Regions from separate parts of the Homo sapiens genome. Here region 2 is linked to region 1. The links are contacts of gene promoters, found by promoter capture Hi-C in human tissues and cell types (Jung and others, 2019). All regions are on one chromosome and are shown on one strand. Each heading gives the region's core, a stretch centred on a gene start or on the middle of the fragment in contact. The rest is flanking DNA. Distances are from core to core; before and after follow the strand shown.

Evidence for each region. The method cuts DNA at HindIII sites, captures the fragments that hold promoters and counts their contacts. A contact is called where the count stands out against the background at its distance.
Region 2: the fragment with the promoter of ZNF891 here is called in contact with the fragment with the promoter of PGAM5 in region 1 in 1 of the 25 tissues and cell types used here (liver).

What each region holds. Positions count from the first base shown.
Region 1 is chr12:132,707,142-132,714,467 of GRCh38, forward strand. PGAM5 (PGAM family member 5, mitochondrial serine/threonine protein phosphatase) reads left to right here and starts at 3,701. Exons shown (of 6, transcript NM_001170543.2): 1 at 3,701-3,926. The coding sequence starts at 3,736. It overlaps LOC124903063 (a long non-coding RNA gene), which reads right to left and starts at 3,454. Exons shown (of 2, transcript XR_007063551.1): 1 at 3,353-3,454. RefSeq lists silencers at 169-369, 3,438-3,897, 4,108-4,217 and an enhancer at 3,218-3,267. The HindIII fragment of the contact is 20,255 bases long and covers 1-7,326 here.
Region 2 is chr12:133,127,148-133,134,473 of GRCh38, forward strand. It overlaps ZNF891 (zinc finger protein 891), which reads right to left and starts at 3,127. Exons shown (of 2, transcript NM_001277291.2): 1 at 3,080-3,127. ZNF10 (zinc finger protein 10) reads left to right here and starts at 3,480. Exons shown (of 5, transcript NM_015394.5): 1 at 3,480-3,607. RefSeq lists silencers at 2,743-2,922, 3,293-3,532 and enhancers at 3,583-3,862, 4,945-5,114. The HindIII fragment of the contact is 13,822 bases long and covers 1-7,326 here.

The DNA.
Region 1 (7,326 bases), core at 2,451-4,950:
GTTCAGAATATTTAAGGTGGGGTCGTTCCCAAAGGAAGTTTAGGGCATTTGCAAAAGTAACAGATGCTCCTGCAATTGATGCAGAAGGTGACAATTCTGACTATCCCTCTAACTTGCCACTTCCCAGTGAGTCCCACCCCCTGCCATGATGGAGGATTAAGAACCTGGATCTCAGAACAGATTCTAGATTAGAATCCAGAGATGACAGTACTGACACCGCTTAGGGCTGCTTTGTGCCGGAACTCTTCTGAGAGCTGCAGCAGCCCTGAGGGAGGTGCCATTGTTTTCTCTACTCCACATGTGGGGGATGCAAGATGCCTCAGCTAGCAAGAGACAGTCCTGATTCAGAGGCAGTCAGCCAGGTCTTGAGCCACCATCTTCACCACCTCATCATAGGGCATCAGAGTGTCACGGCAAGGTCAAGAGAATTTGCTGGAGAAGATTTCACATCATGTATATGGCTTACCACAGCCCGCATCCGGTCAGTTCGCTGAACACACCTTTACGGAGTGCTGTCAGGCACACAGGGGAGAGCAGAGACCAGGAGTTTTTAGTTTCACACACTTAACAGTCATCAGAAAACAGGCTTTTTTTTTTTTTTTTTTTTTGAGACAGAGTCTCACTCTGTTGCCCAGGCTGGAGTGCGGTGGCATGATCTCAGCTCACTGCAGCCTCCCGTTTCCAAGTGATTCTCCTGGCTCAGCCTCCTGAGTAGCTGGGATTACCAGCGCGTGCCACTATGCCCTGCTAATTTTTTGTATTTTTAGTAGAGATGGGGTTTCACCATGTTGGCCAGGCTGGTCTCGAACTCCTGACCTCAAGTGATCCATCCGCCTGTCTCGGCCTCTCAAAGTGCTGGGATTATCGAGCATGAGCCACTGCGCCCGGCGTAAAAAATACATTAAAAAAAAATATTTTCTCCTGGGCTGGTCAGTTTCCACACAGAGGAATCCTTTAGTTCTTGTCAGGGCATTGGGGGAAGGATGGTGGTGGTAGCTGAGCAGGGAATGAGCCTAGTGGCCAACATTCTTGTGGCTATCTGGAGGAAAGGGGTTAGAGGTCCTACTCTTCCTTATGTGAACTCTGTATAATCCCATCTTTATTACTGCATCCCCAATCTGAGCTATGCTTGGTGTCCTGAAATCCAGAACCCTCCTGTTCAAGTCCCCTGGAATGGCCTTTCTCTAGTGCTCCACGGTGATGAAAGTGAGCTATTCCCCTGAACATGTGGGGGAGAAACGAAATGTGGAAGGCAACCTTTTCCTCTAAATGCTCCTGCTTTCAGCCCCACAGCTCTCAGACAGGAGGCTAATGCTGCCAACTCCCAGACTCTTCCAGACTCACTGGATTAAATGAACTTGCTTCCTGGTTTCCTTCCACATAGGCACTGGTGTTCCATATTCTCAGGTCGATAAAGATCTGATCTCCAGCTCTTGAACTTTTGTTAACTGATTTATCTGCTGTCATTTCTTCTTATGGATTCAACTATGTCCTTGTGGATTTTCCCTTGTTTTTTATTTTATTTTTTGAGATGGAGTCTTGCTCTGTCACCCAGGCTGGAGTGCAGTAGTGTGATCTCAGCTCACTGCAGCTTCTGCCTCCTGGATTCCAGCGATTCTCCTGCCTCAGCCTCCTGGGTAGCTGGGATTACAGGTATGTACCAGCTAATTTTTGTATTTTTAGTAGAGATGGGGTTTCACCATGTTGGCCAGGCTGGTCTCAAACTCCTGATCTCAGGTGATCTGCCCGCCTCGGCCTCCCAAAGTGCTGGGATTACAGGCATGAGCCACTGAGCCTGGCTGATTTTCTTTTTTTTGAGACAGAGTCTCTGTCACCCAGGCTGGAGTGCAGTGGCACCATCCTGGCTCACTGCAACCTCTGCCTCCCAGGTTCAAGCGATTATCCGGCCTTAGGCTCTCGAGTAGCAGGGACTACAGGCGCGCACCACCACGCCAGGCTTTTTTGTATTTCAGTAAAGACGGGGTTTCACCATGTTGGTCAGGCTGGTCTTGATCTCCTAACCTCGTGATCCGCCCACCTCAGCCTCCCAAAGTGCTGGGATTACAGGCGTGAGGCACTGCGCCCGGCCCAATTTTCCTTTATTTTTTTGAGACAGAGTCTCGCTCTGTCGCCCAGTCTGGAGTGCAGTGGCGCGATCTCGGCTCACTGCAAGCTCCGCCTCCCGGGTTCACGGCATTCTCCTGCCTCAGCCTCCCTAGTAGCTGGGACTACAAGCACCCGCCACCATGCCCTATTTTTTTTTTTTTTTTTTGTATTATTAGTAGAGACGGGTTTTCACCGTGTTAGCCAGGATGGTCTCGAGCTCCTGACCTCGTGATCCGCTCACCTAGGCCTCCCAAAGTGCTGGGATTACAGGCGTGAGCCACCACGCCCGGCCTTCCTTTTATTTTTATTTTTTAAATCTTCCTATCATTTTTAGTAAATGACCTGGAAGCAGCAGACCCAACTGGAAGCGTACAGGTTCAAGAAAGCCTGTTTAAGCAGAAGTCTCAGTATTTCTGTGGAACCATTCAGTTTTTTTATTTTTATTTTTTTGAGACATTGTTTCACTCTGTTGCCCAGGCTGGAGTGCAGTGAGGCAATCTCAGCTCACTGCAACCTCCGCTTCCTGGGTTCAAGCAACTCTCCTGCCTCAGCCTCCTGAGTAGCTGGTATTACAGGCTGGAGCCACCGTGCCCGGCTAATTTTTGTATTTTTAGTAGAGACCGGGTTTCACCATGTTGGCCAGGCTGGTCTCAAACTTCTGACCTCAGGTGATCCGCCTGTCTCGGCTTCCCAAAGTGTTGTGATTACACGCGTGAGCCACCGAGCCCAGGCCCAAGTGATTTTTAAATAGCTTAAATCAGATCATGTCATTTCCCAATTTTAAAATGGGCAGAGATGGTCCAGCAATCCCACTTCTGGGTACAGACGCAAAACAATCAATGAAAGAGAGATCTGCACGCAGCACTGTTCACGCTAGCGAGGAGATGGCAACAGGGCAAGCGTCCAGCAATGGGTAAGCGGTGGGGTCGGTGCACGCAGGCGTCCAGCAATGGGTAAGCGGTGGGGTCGGTCCACCCAGGGAGCGCTGGTCCCCCTGGAAGGAAACCCAGGCTCTAACGCGGTCCCTCTGAGGACCCTGCTAGGCGAAACGCGCCGGCCATAGAAAGACTGTCCCGCAGGAGAGGGCGGTGTTCGGCCCGGGGTTTGAGGGGTCGGGACCAGGAGGAGGGACAGCCCGGCCGAACCTGAACGCACTTCAGGCCGCTTGAACAGCACACGCAGGAACTGCGCCGACGGAAAACTTTACTTCGTGTTCCGCCACCAAAAAAATATCGTTTAAACAAACCTGCGGCAGCTTCCCAGCTCCCTTAAACCAGGATCCCAAGTTCTCCGCGTCTCCGCCCCTGCACCCAGCCTCCGGCCTCGGCAGGCGCTTCCGGTGCGGAACCTTCTGGAAAGTACCGCGCCGCCCTCCCGGCGTCCCCACAACCCCGCCCGCACCTGCGCGCACCGGCGCTCGCGAGCACAAGTGACGGGACTGGAGCGTGGCGCGGCAGGTGGCTCCACGAAAACGCCCCTTCGCGCAAGGCTGCCCCGCGTCCTGCCGCGCCCCAGGAGGCGGGACTTCCGCCCCCGCCGCCCGGAAGCGGCAGCCGGGGGAAGCGTGTTCCTCGCGGAGCGCCGTCGGGGCCGTGGGCGCCTGCGCGGGCCGGCGCGGGAGCAAGCGGCATGGCGTTCCGGCAGGCGCTGCAGCTGGCGGCCTGCGGGCTGGCCGGGGGCTCGGCCGCCGTGCTCTTCTCGGCCGTGGCGGTAGGGAAGCCGCGCGCAGGCGGGGACGCGGAGCCACGCCCGGCTGAGCCGCCGGCCTGGGCGGGGGGCGCGCGGCCGGGCCCCGGTGTCTGGGACCCCAACTGGGACAGGTGCGCGCGGGGCTGTTTGGGGCCGGGGTCGGGATGGGGGTCAGGGCAGGTGTTACCGTTGGGATCGAGATCGGGACCAGGTTTAAGGTTGCGATCGGGTCGGGATCTGGGGTCGCCGTCTGCTTTCCCCAGCGGAGGAGCCGCTTTCCGGGGCCGCTCTGCGCGGAGGGTTCCGGGGGCGGCTGACCCTTCCCGCCGGCTTCTGTGGCCGAGCTCCGTCGCGTCCTCGCCCTTCTCCCCGCCCCTGCGAGTCCGCCCTGGGTGCCATCGCCGGAGCGCGGGCCGGGGCGAGGCTGAGGTGGAAGCCGGGCCTCCTTCAGGGGCGTTTGCAGGAGCGCGCCCGCGAGCTGCGTGCGGTTATTGAGCGTTTGAAATATGGCTCGTGTGATTCCTGAAGGGAATGCTTAGTTTACGTCAATTTAAACTTAACGCAAGCAGGGCCGGGTGCGGTAGCTCAGGCCTGTAATCCCAGCGTTTGGGAGGCTGAGGCCGGAGGATCGCTTGAGAAATTTGAAACCAGCCTGGGCAACATAGTGAGACCCCCATCTCTACAAAAAATACAAAAAAAATTGGCCGAGCGAGGTGGCGCGCGCCTGTGGTCCCAGCTACTCGGGAGGCTGAGGTAGGAGGATCCCTTGAGTCCAGGGGTCCCAGGCTGCACAGTGTGAGCCGAGATCCCGCCACTTCACTCCAGCCTGAGCAACAGAGCCTGTCTCAAAGGAAAAAAAAAAAAAGTAGTGCAGGTTTTTAACATTAGTTATGTGTTGAAATAGTATTTTTAGCATATTGAATTAAAAGTATGATCGAAATTCACCTGTTTCTTTTTAATGTTGCTATTAGAAAATGTATAATTTCACATGTTGCTGGCATTCTGTTTCTGTCGGCCAGGACTGCTCTAGCGGCAAGGATGGTTTTCCCAGTCCTAACTCCTCATTATACTCAGTACTTTGAGAAAGGGGGCACAGAATTATACTACTGTGGTTGCGTTAGGTACTTTATATTAGATTTTTATCTTTTGTTAACCTTATTTCCTCTATTATTAGCATCATACACTAAGCATGGTGTATATATCAAAATTAATGAGCCAAAATAATATAGATTAATTATAGTTATTATATTAGTTTATAATACATTACTGTTAACTAAGGTTCATGTTTCATTGAGATTTCCTCAGCTTTTACCTGCTGTTCTGTTCTAGGGTCCCACATGACAAGTAGTCTTCATGCCTCCGTAGGCATGTTTTGGCTGTGACAATTTCTCAGACTTGTTTTGATGATCATGAGTGTTTGAGGCGTCCTGGTCAGGGGTTTGGTAGAAGGTCCCTCAATTGAGACTTCTCTGAAGGTTTTCTCATGATTAGACTGGAGTTACATTCTTTTTCCTTCTTTTCTTTTTTCTTTTTCCTTGAGACGGAGTTTCGCTCTTGTTGCCCAGGCTGGAGTGCAATGGTGCAATCTCGGCTCACTGCAACCTCCGCCTCCCGGGTTCAAGCAATTCTCCTGCCTCAGCCTCCCGAGTAGCTGGGATTACAGGCACGCGCCATTATGCCCAGCTAATTTTGTATTTTTAGTAGAGACGGGGTTTCTCCATGTCGGTCAGGCTGGTCTTGAACTCCCAACCTTAGGTGATCCTCCCACCTCGGCCTCCCAAAGTGCTGGGATTACAGGCATGAGCCACCATGCCCAGCCTGTTATATTCTTTTTTAAAAATCAGAATTCTGAAAAATCAGAAATTCTGAATCAATATTCTGAATTTCTTAGGTCTTTTTAAGGAAACAGATTTACTCTGCCGTTAAAGAACTTGAAGTAGGCTGGGTGCGGTGGCTCACACCTGTAATCCCAGCATTTTGAGAGGCTGAGGTGGGCGGATCACTTGAGGTCAGGAGTTCGAGACCAGCCTGACCAACACGGTGACACTCTGTATTTACTAAAAATACAAAAAAATTAGCCAGGCATGGTGGCATGCACCTGTAGTCCTAGCTACTTGGGAGGCTGAGGCAGGACAATCACTTGAGCCCAGGAGGTGGAGGCTGCAGTGAGCCCAGATCGTGCCACTGCACTCCAGCCTGGGTGATAGAGTGAAACTCTGTCTCAAAAAAGAAAAAAAAGAACTTGAAGTAGAACCGGGAGCTGAGCCCAGCCTTTCTCTTTTAAGCAGGTGTTCTGTATTTGCTTGTCATGTCTGGGGAGAAGTGAATTGGGCCTTGTGGGTTGGGAAAGACTTATACAGACAGAAGGCATGAGCAACTACAGGAAGGTGCTAGAAGACAGCATGTTTCTTCTTGAGTCTCACCTGTCCACACTTGAAAGTTCCAGAGCCTCATCTGGTGAAATCTCCAGCTTCTTCCTGGAGGTCTCATGCAGTTTACGGCTTCCTGTCTCTGTGCCTATAGCTCCCAAATATTTTCTCTGGCTCAGCCTGACTCCCCCATACCTGCCAATTTGAGTCTTGGCCTGGTTTATGACAGGCCCCCAGGTCGGCGTGGCCCAAACGGAGCCCTTGAGTCACCACCGTGCCCTTCCACAGCTTCCTTTTCCGCCACTGTCTCAGCGAGTAAATACCAGCAGGTTCGACTTTTGCTATTCCCAGCTCTGCCGCGTTGAACTTTTTTTGTTGCTGTTGAGACAGGGTCTCGCTCTGTTGCCCAGGCTGGAGTGCAGTGCAGTGCAGTGGCAAGATCATGGCTCCCTCCTAGGCTCAAGCAATTCTCCCACCTCAGCCTCCTGAGTAGCCGGGACTACAGCTGTGGACCACCTTGCCCGGCTAATTTTTTAATGTTTTTGTAGAGACGGGGTCCCCCTGTGTTGCCCAGGCTAGTCTTGGACTCCTGGGCTCCAGTGATCTGCCCACCTCGGCCTCCCAAAGTGCTGGGATCCACTCTTTTTCAGATTCCAGCAGCTCTGGAACAGACCTTCATAATGGGAATGTTTTCTTCCTCACTGAGTGTTTGTTTATTTATTTATTTTCTGAGGCGGAGTCTCACTCTGTCGCCCAGACTGGAGTGCAGTGGCACGATCTCGGCTCTCTGCAACCTCCGCCTCCCAGGTTCAAGCGATTCTCCTGCCTCAGCCTCCCAAGTAGCTGGGATCACAGGCGTGTGCCACCAAGCCCGGCTAATTTTTGTATTTTGAGTAGAGGTGCAATTTCACCATGTTGGCCAGGCTAGTGTCGAACTCTTGACCTCAGTTGATCTGGCCACCTCAGCCTCCCAAATGCTGGGATTACACGTGTGAGCCACTGCACCCGGCCTGAGGGTCTAAAATGTGCTTAGTATGACTGAGGACATGATGTTTTAATTTTATTTAATTTTGCTTAAATTTTGAATTGAAACATCCTCATAGCTAGTGGCTGCTGTTGGGCATTGCAGTTCTAGGCTCTGCTGAAGCATCATGGTCAGGGA
Region 2 (7,326 bases), core at 1,877-4,376, 420 kb after region 1:
GTAGAGATGGGGTTTCACCATCTTGGCCAGCCTGGTCTTGAACTCCTGACCTCATGATCCACCCACCTCGGCCTCCCAAAATGTTGGGATTACAGGCGTGAGCCACGGTGCCCGGCCAGAAACTTCTTATTCCTTAAAAAAACACAGTATCTAAGAACTGATCCATCAAAGCAAGTAATTTCTTTAAATAATTAGAACACACATCATCATGAAATTTTTGAATACCAAAGAGCTCCAAGAGATGATAAACAGATTACACATAAAAGAACAAGGTATGAAATAGGACTTCTCAACAGTAACAGTAACACTGCTCCATTTCCTATCTAGCTTCACTGGCTTTCAAAATTCTAATGGAAAGTAATTTCCTATTGAGATGTGTATACTCGGTGAAAACACCACACAAATGTGAGGAAAAAGTAATTTCTAATCATTTCTACAACTTTAATATATGTAGATCATATGGACCCTTTCTTCAAGGCAGTTAAGATTACAATCCACCAAACAGGAATAGAAGTGCTTTACAGGAAACAGGAGATTTAACACAGAGGTGAGATGAGGAAATTGATGAGGGCAAAAGGGAAGCCCAGTGGTATGCCAGCGTGCTGCATGCCTACAGAGTAACTGATCAATCTACATTGCAGGGGGATGTCCAGGAAAGGAGAAAAGTGATAAGACTGTATGACAGATTAGCCCTTGAGGAAAATGGAACCAAAAGACATTTTACATAGATTTAAGAAAAACTAAGCAAATGAATAAAAAAGGCAGTCATTAAAAACAAGAAAGGTAAACCTTGCACAAGAAAGAAACATATTATGGCTCAGTACTAAAGAGTAGTCATCAAATGAAAACACTGAACATATTTATCCAAAATTTGTGGGAGAACTACATTATAATATTTGTAAAATAATTACATTGTGATTTAAGGATGTAGAAAGAAGGCAGCCAAAGTTCTTATTTAACATGATAAAAATTTTAAAATAATGTCACAAATCGGTGAATAAAAAAATACTGAGAGGAGTTCGAAGCCAGAACTGCTTAAATATTTCCAAGTGGTTGCCACTGGGAAGAGATGGGGTTAAGGTGTTTCCTGTTTTTATTATGAGTCTTTTAACATATTCAGCTCTTAAAAATGTACACACACATTTCTTGGAGCACAAATAAAGAGTAGTAAATTAATTACCCAGTCAAATCAAGAAGCAGATGGCCAGGCACGGTGGCTCACGCCTGTAATCCTAGCACTTTGGGAGGCCAAGGCGGGCGGATTGCCTGAGCTGAAGAGTTCGAGACCAGCCTGGGCAACACCGTGAAACCCCGTCTCTACTAAAAAATACAAAAAATTAACCGGGCATGGCAGTGTGCGCCTGTGATCCCAGCTATTCCAGAGGCTGAGGCAGGAGAATGGCTTGAACCCGGGATGTGGAAGTTGCAGTGAGCAGAGATCCTGCCATTGCATTCCCGCCTGGGCGAGAGAGAGAGACTCTGTCTCAAAAACAAACAAACAAACAAAAACAAAAATTAGCTGGATTAGCCGGGCGTGGTGGGGCCTGAGGCAGGAGAATCGCTTGAATCCGGGTGGTAGAGGCTACAGTGAGCCGAGATCACGCCACTGCACTCCAGCCTGGAGACAGAGTGAAACTCTGTCTCGAAAAAAAAAAAAAAGTAGAAAAACAGAGACAAAGTAAAAGAAAAATTTAAAAATTAAGAGCAAAACTTACTGTAATAGGACCCCCCTCCCCAAAAAAGACCAAAACAAAACAACAAAAAAACCAAAACCAAATCTACATTTTTGAAAAGACTATGTACACATATACCTTATAGGAGTAATCAAGAAAAAAAGGCCTAGATAATTAGGTTCAAAAAAGAAAAAAATAACAATTACAGCAGTAAAATATTAAAAAGTGGTGATTTTAAAAATCACCATAGAAATTACTTACAGTGATAAAATAGCATGGGCAATTTTATGCCAATAAATTTGAAAAATTAGATTAAAAACAATTATCTAGGAAAGGTATCTAAAACAGAATACGAACTAAAAAACCTAATCAATGAGACTTTTTAAAAAATTGAGTCAGGGCCGGGTGCGGTGGCTCACGCTTGTAATCTCAGCGCTTTGGGAGGCCGAGGCAGGCTGATCACCTGAGGTCGGGAGTTCCAGACCAGCCTGACCAACATGGAGAAACCCCATCTCCACTAAAAATACAGAATTAGCTGGGCGTGGTGGCTCATGTCTGTAATCCCGGCAACTCACAAGACTGAGGCAGAAGAATCACTTGAACCCGGGAGGCGGAGGTTGCTGTGAGCCAAGATGGCGCCATTGCACTCCAGCCTGGGCAACAAAGAGCGAAACTCTGTCTCAAAAAAAAAAAAAAAAAAAATTGAGTCAGAAGTTAAATGCGTACTAAATATTTTAAGACCAAATAGCACCAAACTTTTGGAGGCGGGCGGGGGGCGGTGAGGGGTGGTGACCTGTTTTACAGAATAGAAGAGAGACTGTGCTGTCCAAATTATTCATGAAGCTTGTAAAATCTTGTTAGTATAACGGGCAAGGATAGTACACAAAAAGATTAAAACACAATCTTGTGAGCATAGGTGAAGTCAAAGGGAAACAGCCAATTGAATACACCAGAGTATTAAAGAAATAAAACCATATCGCATTCAACCACAGTATAAGGCAATAGGTGAAAAAAACGATGGCTGTGATTCAACTCATTACTAGGTTTAGAGATTCAAGAGAGGCTGCTGGACAGAGGCGTGCACCCTTTAGCCCTCCCGTGTTGCTTAGAGAAGGAGGCAAACGCGCATCCCCGGCCCCCCAGCGCTCCCTGCGTGGCACCCGCAGCCAGCCCGGGACCCCTCCGCCCCGCGCGCCCCTGGTCCCCACTCGCTCCCCGCGCTCCACTCGCACCCGGTAAGTAGCCCCTCCTCCCTCAAGGGCCTCTCCCACCGCCGCCTCCCGGGCAGGCTCCCTGCTGCTCAGACTCCCGTGAGGCGATCCCTGCACGCAGGAGAACTCAGCGGGCCAGGCTGATCCCACGAGGGACTTGTCCCGGGTGAACGAGCCACAGGCCCGCATGCTCACCCGTCCTCAGTGCCTGCCTCCAGGCGTCCGCGGTCCCGCCCGAGGGGGACGCGAGGCCGAACTACGTTTCCCAGGAGCTCCTGCGCCGCCCCGCAGAGGGGCCTGGTCTGTGCGTCACGGACGCGCTCTGGGCCGAAGGCCCGCAGGGTCCGGCACAGAGTGGCGGCTGCGGCGCCGGCGACGAATCGCCGGCTCTAGGGTCCCGGGGCGCGCGGCTGACGGGCTGGGGGCGGAGCGTGGCCTGAACGCCAGGCTGGGGCGCGTGCGTAACGGTGTGTGTTGTGGGTGCGTGTGCGTGCGTTCGCAGCAGGGGCGGGCGTAGGACCAATGGGGGCGGGGCGCGTGCGCGTGCGTGACGTCAGGCCACGGGGAGGTGGCGCCGCCGTGCCGAGCCGGCCTCAGACTCACCTCTGACGCCGCTCTTCGCGCTCCGCTGGTGAATGGAGTCGCGTTCTCTGTTTTGCTGTTGCTGCTGCCTTTGTGACGGGATCGCTTTCTCCCATCGAACCTTCTAGTTGCTTATTGCAGGTATATACGAAAGTGCTGAATTTTGTGTTTGCATCGTCATCAGGCGCGTGTTGAGCCCTTTAGTAATGTAGCAGTGTATTAGCTTCGTATTTCTAGGTAGACGGTAATTTCGTCAATGAAAAAATTTAACGGTGATCGTCACCCCTTGCCTCAGTCACTTTCTGTCCCTCGCGCGGCCCCGGCGTTCACGGCGGACGTTCTTGTTCTGTGGAGAATAACGGCTGCACCTGGAGATTGACGCAGAGTGGGCGGCGGTGGTGGTAAGTTTGAACCAGATATTTTCAGTAATACAAAATAAGGTTTCTTCTAGTCTAACTTCCATTTTTCCCCCCAGCTGGGATAGATGTTTAAAATTTTGCATATGGCCTTTCTAGTATTTGTTGAAATAGTGACGCCGATTCGTGTGTGGTCTTTTAAAAACAAATCCTGCATCTCTAGCTCTTAGCTTCCTCATCTTTGTTTTGTTTTTTAATCAGATAGATTAACTGAAGGCGTGTTTGTGTGGTTAATCTATTTTTTTTATTTTCAGAGACAGATCATAAGTTTAATTACTATATTTTTATTTTCCCTTGACACTAGATATATATACGCCATCTAACACATAATATGAGTGTCAAAGATAAGGTTAACATCAAGATTTCGTACGTAGATCCCACCCAAAGTGTATGCAGAAGGTGAACAATTTCAATTCCAGCTATACATTAATTGCAGAAAGATACTGTTAATTAAAAAAAAAAAAGTAAAAGGGAAGGCAGGATGTCACCCAGAATGCCAGCCAACAAGTGTTATTAGGTTAGAAATGACTGCAGTTAGGTCTCCGAGAACTGGATAGCACAAATCCTCCCTACCCTTTTGAAAATTACCTCCACACTAACTTTTCTCTTGTGACATAACTAATCTCTTCTGTTTTACTAAAATTGTCCCCCATCTTCCAAAGCCTCTTGGATGGTAAGTTGCACACGCTCCTGCCTCTTTTTGAAAGTTACATTTGTTTTTTGATTACTTCTCTCAGCATGCATTTCTTTAGCTCTTAGTATATGCTAGTCACAAGGGCAGAGATTTGAGATACACATCATAAATTAAATGAGAATTTCTGCTTATCAGTATTTTATATAAGCACTGTCTGGAAATTCTACTTAGGACAATATTTAAGTAGATATGAGGCTTACCTTCTGGAAAAGAGATTACAAAATTATCCTTGTTAATTAATTAACTAATTAAGTCCCCAAAATGAGAAGAGATTCAATTACTATCAATAATTTGTAGTAAAGTGACTGAAAAGGAAATATATAAGCTAATAGATTGATTGCCGTCCTCAACAAGTTAGCACATACTTTTATTTTTAAAAAGTCTTCACAATAGGAAGAAAATAATTTTAGCTAGAAATATATGTGAACTATATGAGAAAAACTTCAAAACCTTACTAGGCAATTCTTACTAGAAGAATAAAGGATGAGTAAGAATAAAAACAGTTCTGTTTATAGATTATATTCAATTGTCAAGAAAATCTGAGAATTTTTTTTTTTTTTTTTGAGATAGAGTTTTGTTCTTGTTGCCCATGCTGGAGTGCAATGGCTCGATCTTGGCTCACTGCAACCTCTGCCTCCTGGGTTCAAGCAATTCTCCTGCCTCAACCTCCCTAGTAGCTGGGATTACAGGCGCCAGCCACCATGCCCAGCTAATTAACATATGCCAGTCACAAGGGCAGAGATTTGAGATACACATCTTAAATTAACAAGAGCAACAAGAGCGAAACTCCGTCTCAAAAAAAAAGTATTTTAAGGAAAAAGAAATTTCTTATTGTTAATATCTCTGTTGTGCCTACAAGAGACTCTTTTACTTTCATCAGCAGTACTCTTTCTAGCATGTCTCATGTCAGCCAGGGCTTTTAATTCTTCTGGCTATGAAGCAAGGTTGGGACAAGATATGATATAGGCCACCTTTGTCTGTGTATGTGCCTCTTTGACTCGTAATGAACATCCAAGAGCATTATTTTTTCCTCTTTCCACACAATATCTCCTTGCTGACTGATCCTAACATTTCCTGTTCAAAATTTTATTATGAAGAATTTTGAGCATACAGCTAAATTAAAAGAAGTTTACAGTGAATACTTATAAACCTTCCCATCTAGACTCTACCATTAATATTTTACTGTACCTAATTTTAACACATACCCATCTGTCCCTCTTTTTATCCATCAGTTCATTGTATTTTTAAATTTTTTTCAAAGTAAATTGACATGGGTACGTATTCCTTAAAAATTTCAGAATACGTATGTATTATTAATTAGAATTCTATATTTGTTTAGATTTTTCTTTAGATGTAAAATTTACATAACATGAAAAGCGCAAATCTTAAGTGTACATTTGCTGAGTTTTGACAGATGCAGGATCTTTGCCTTTTGTATCTTTAAGTATATCTTTGCCATGTCTATTGGTTACCGAGTTTTAACTTTGTGGCTGCTGGGTCCTTTTTGCTGATCATACCTTGCCCTTTGCTGAAGCAAATACTGGTAAACCTATTCAGAACTTGAAGAGACCCTGTTCTCTTTATTAATGAACATGTACTCCATGTCCCCAAGTGAAATGCGGTTCCTGACGAGGTTGTACCTGTCAATGTGAGTGCTGGTTAAGTATAGTCACATGTCAGAGTGAATGAATATGAAGTGCTAAGCACTTTGCTAGCCTCTTCCCAGGATTTAGAATGAGATTGTCCTAATTCTTAAGTGGTTCACTATCTCATAAGGGAGACAGACAAATCTTGGTACCGTAAGGCAGCGTTGAAGTGCTGGAATAGGGCATGGGCAGAGTCCTTCATGTTTACGGATGATAGAACCACTGATCCTCTCTGAGATAGTGGGAAGGCGTCACAGCATAGATGGCATTAAAGTGATCCTTAGAGAATATGGGGCAAGTGTAGTGGGAGTTAAGTTGAAAAGGGTCCAGAACGTTGTTGTGAAACTTGTACGCTAAGTGTTTGATTGGAGCTGTGCTTTGGAACTGCGTGTGCCTCAAATAGTAACTTTCATAGCCTTCTTGCCGATACTTGGAGCTTCTTTTCAGCCCATCTCTGCCCTTGTGGCAGCCAAAATAATGGCTCCCCAGAGATATCCCCAGCACCTGGGAATATTTTACCTTATACTGCAAAATAAAATTTGCAGTTGTGATTCAATGAAGGATCTCAAGATGGGGAGAGATTATCCTGGATTATTTCAGTGGGCTTAGTGTAATAACAGGGGTCCTTAAAAGTAAAAGAGCTGGGTGGCCGGGCACGGTGGCTCACGCCTGTAATCCCAGCACTTTGGGAGGCCAAGGTGGGGAGATCACCTGAGGTCAGGAGTTCGAGACCAGCCTGGCCAACTTGGTGAAACCCTGTCGCTACTAAAAATACAAAAAAAAAAAAAAAAAAATTAGCTGAGTGTGGTGGTGGGCGCCTGTAATCCCAGCTATATGGGAGGCTGTGGCAGGAGAATCACTTGAACCCAAGAGGCGGCGGTTGCAATGAGCCGAGATTGCTTCACTGCACTCCAGCCTGGGCAACAGAGCAAGACTCCCTCTCAAAAAAAAAAAGTAAAAGGGGGATAAGAAGGTTAGCAATCAGGGAAATATAACCATGAAAGAAAGGCACAGAGAAATGTATCATTGCTGGCCTTGCAGGTGGAGGAAGGGTCAGGAGCCAAGGAGTGTAGATGGTCCTAGACACTGGACGGGGGCAAGGAA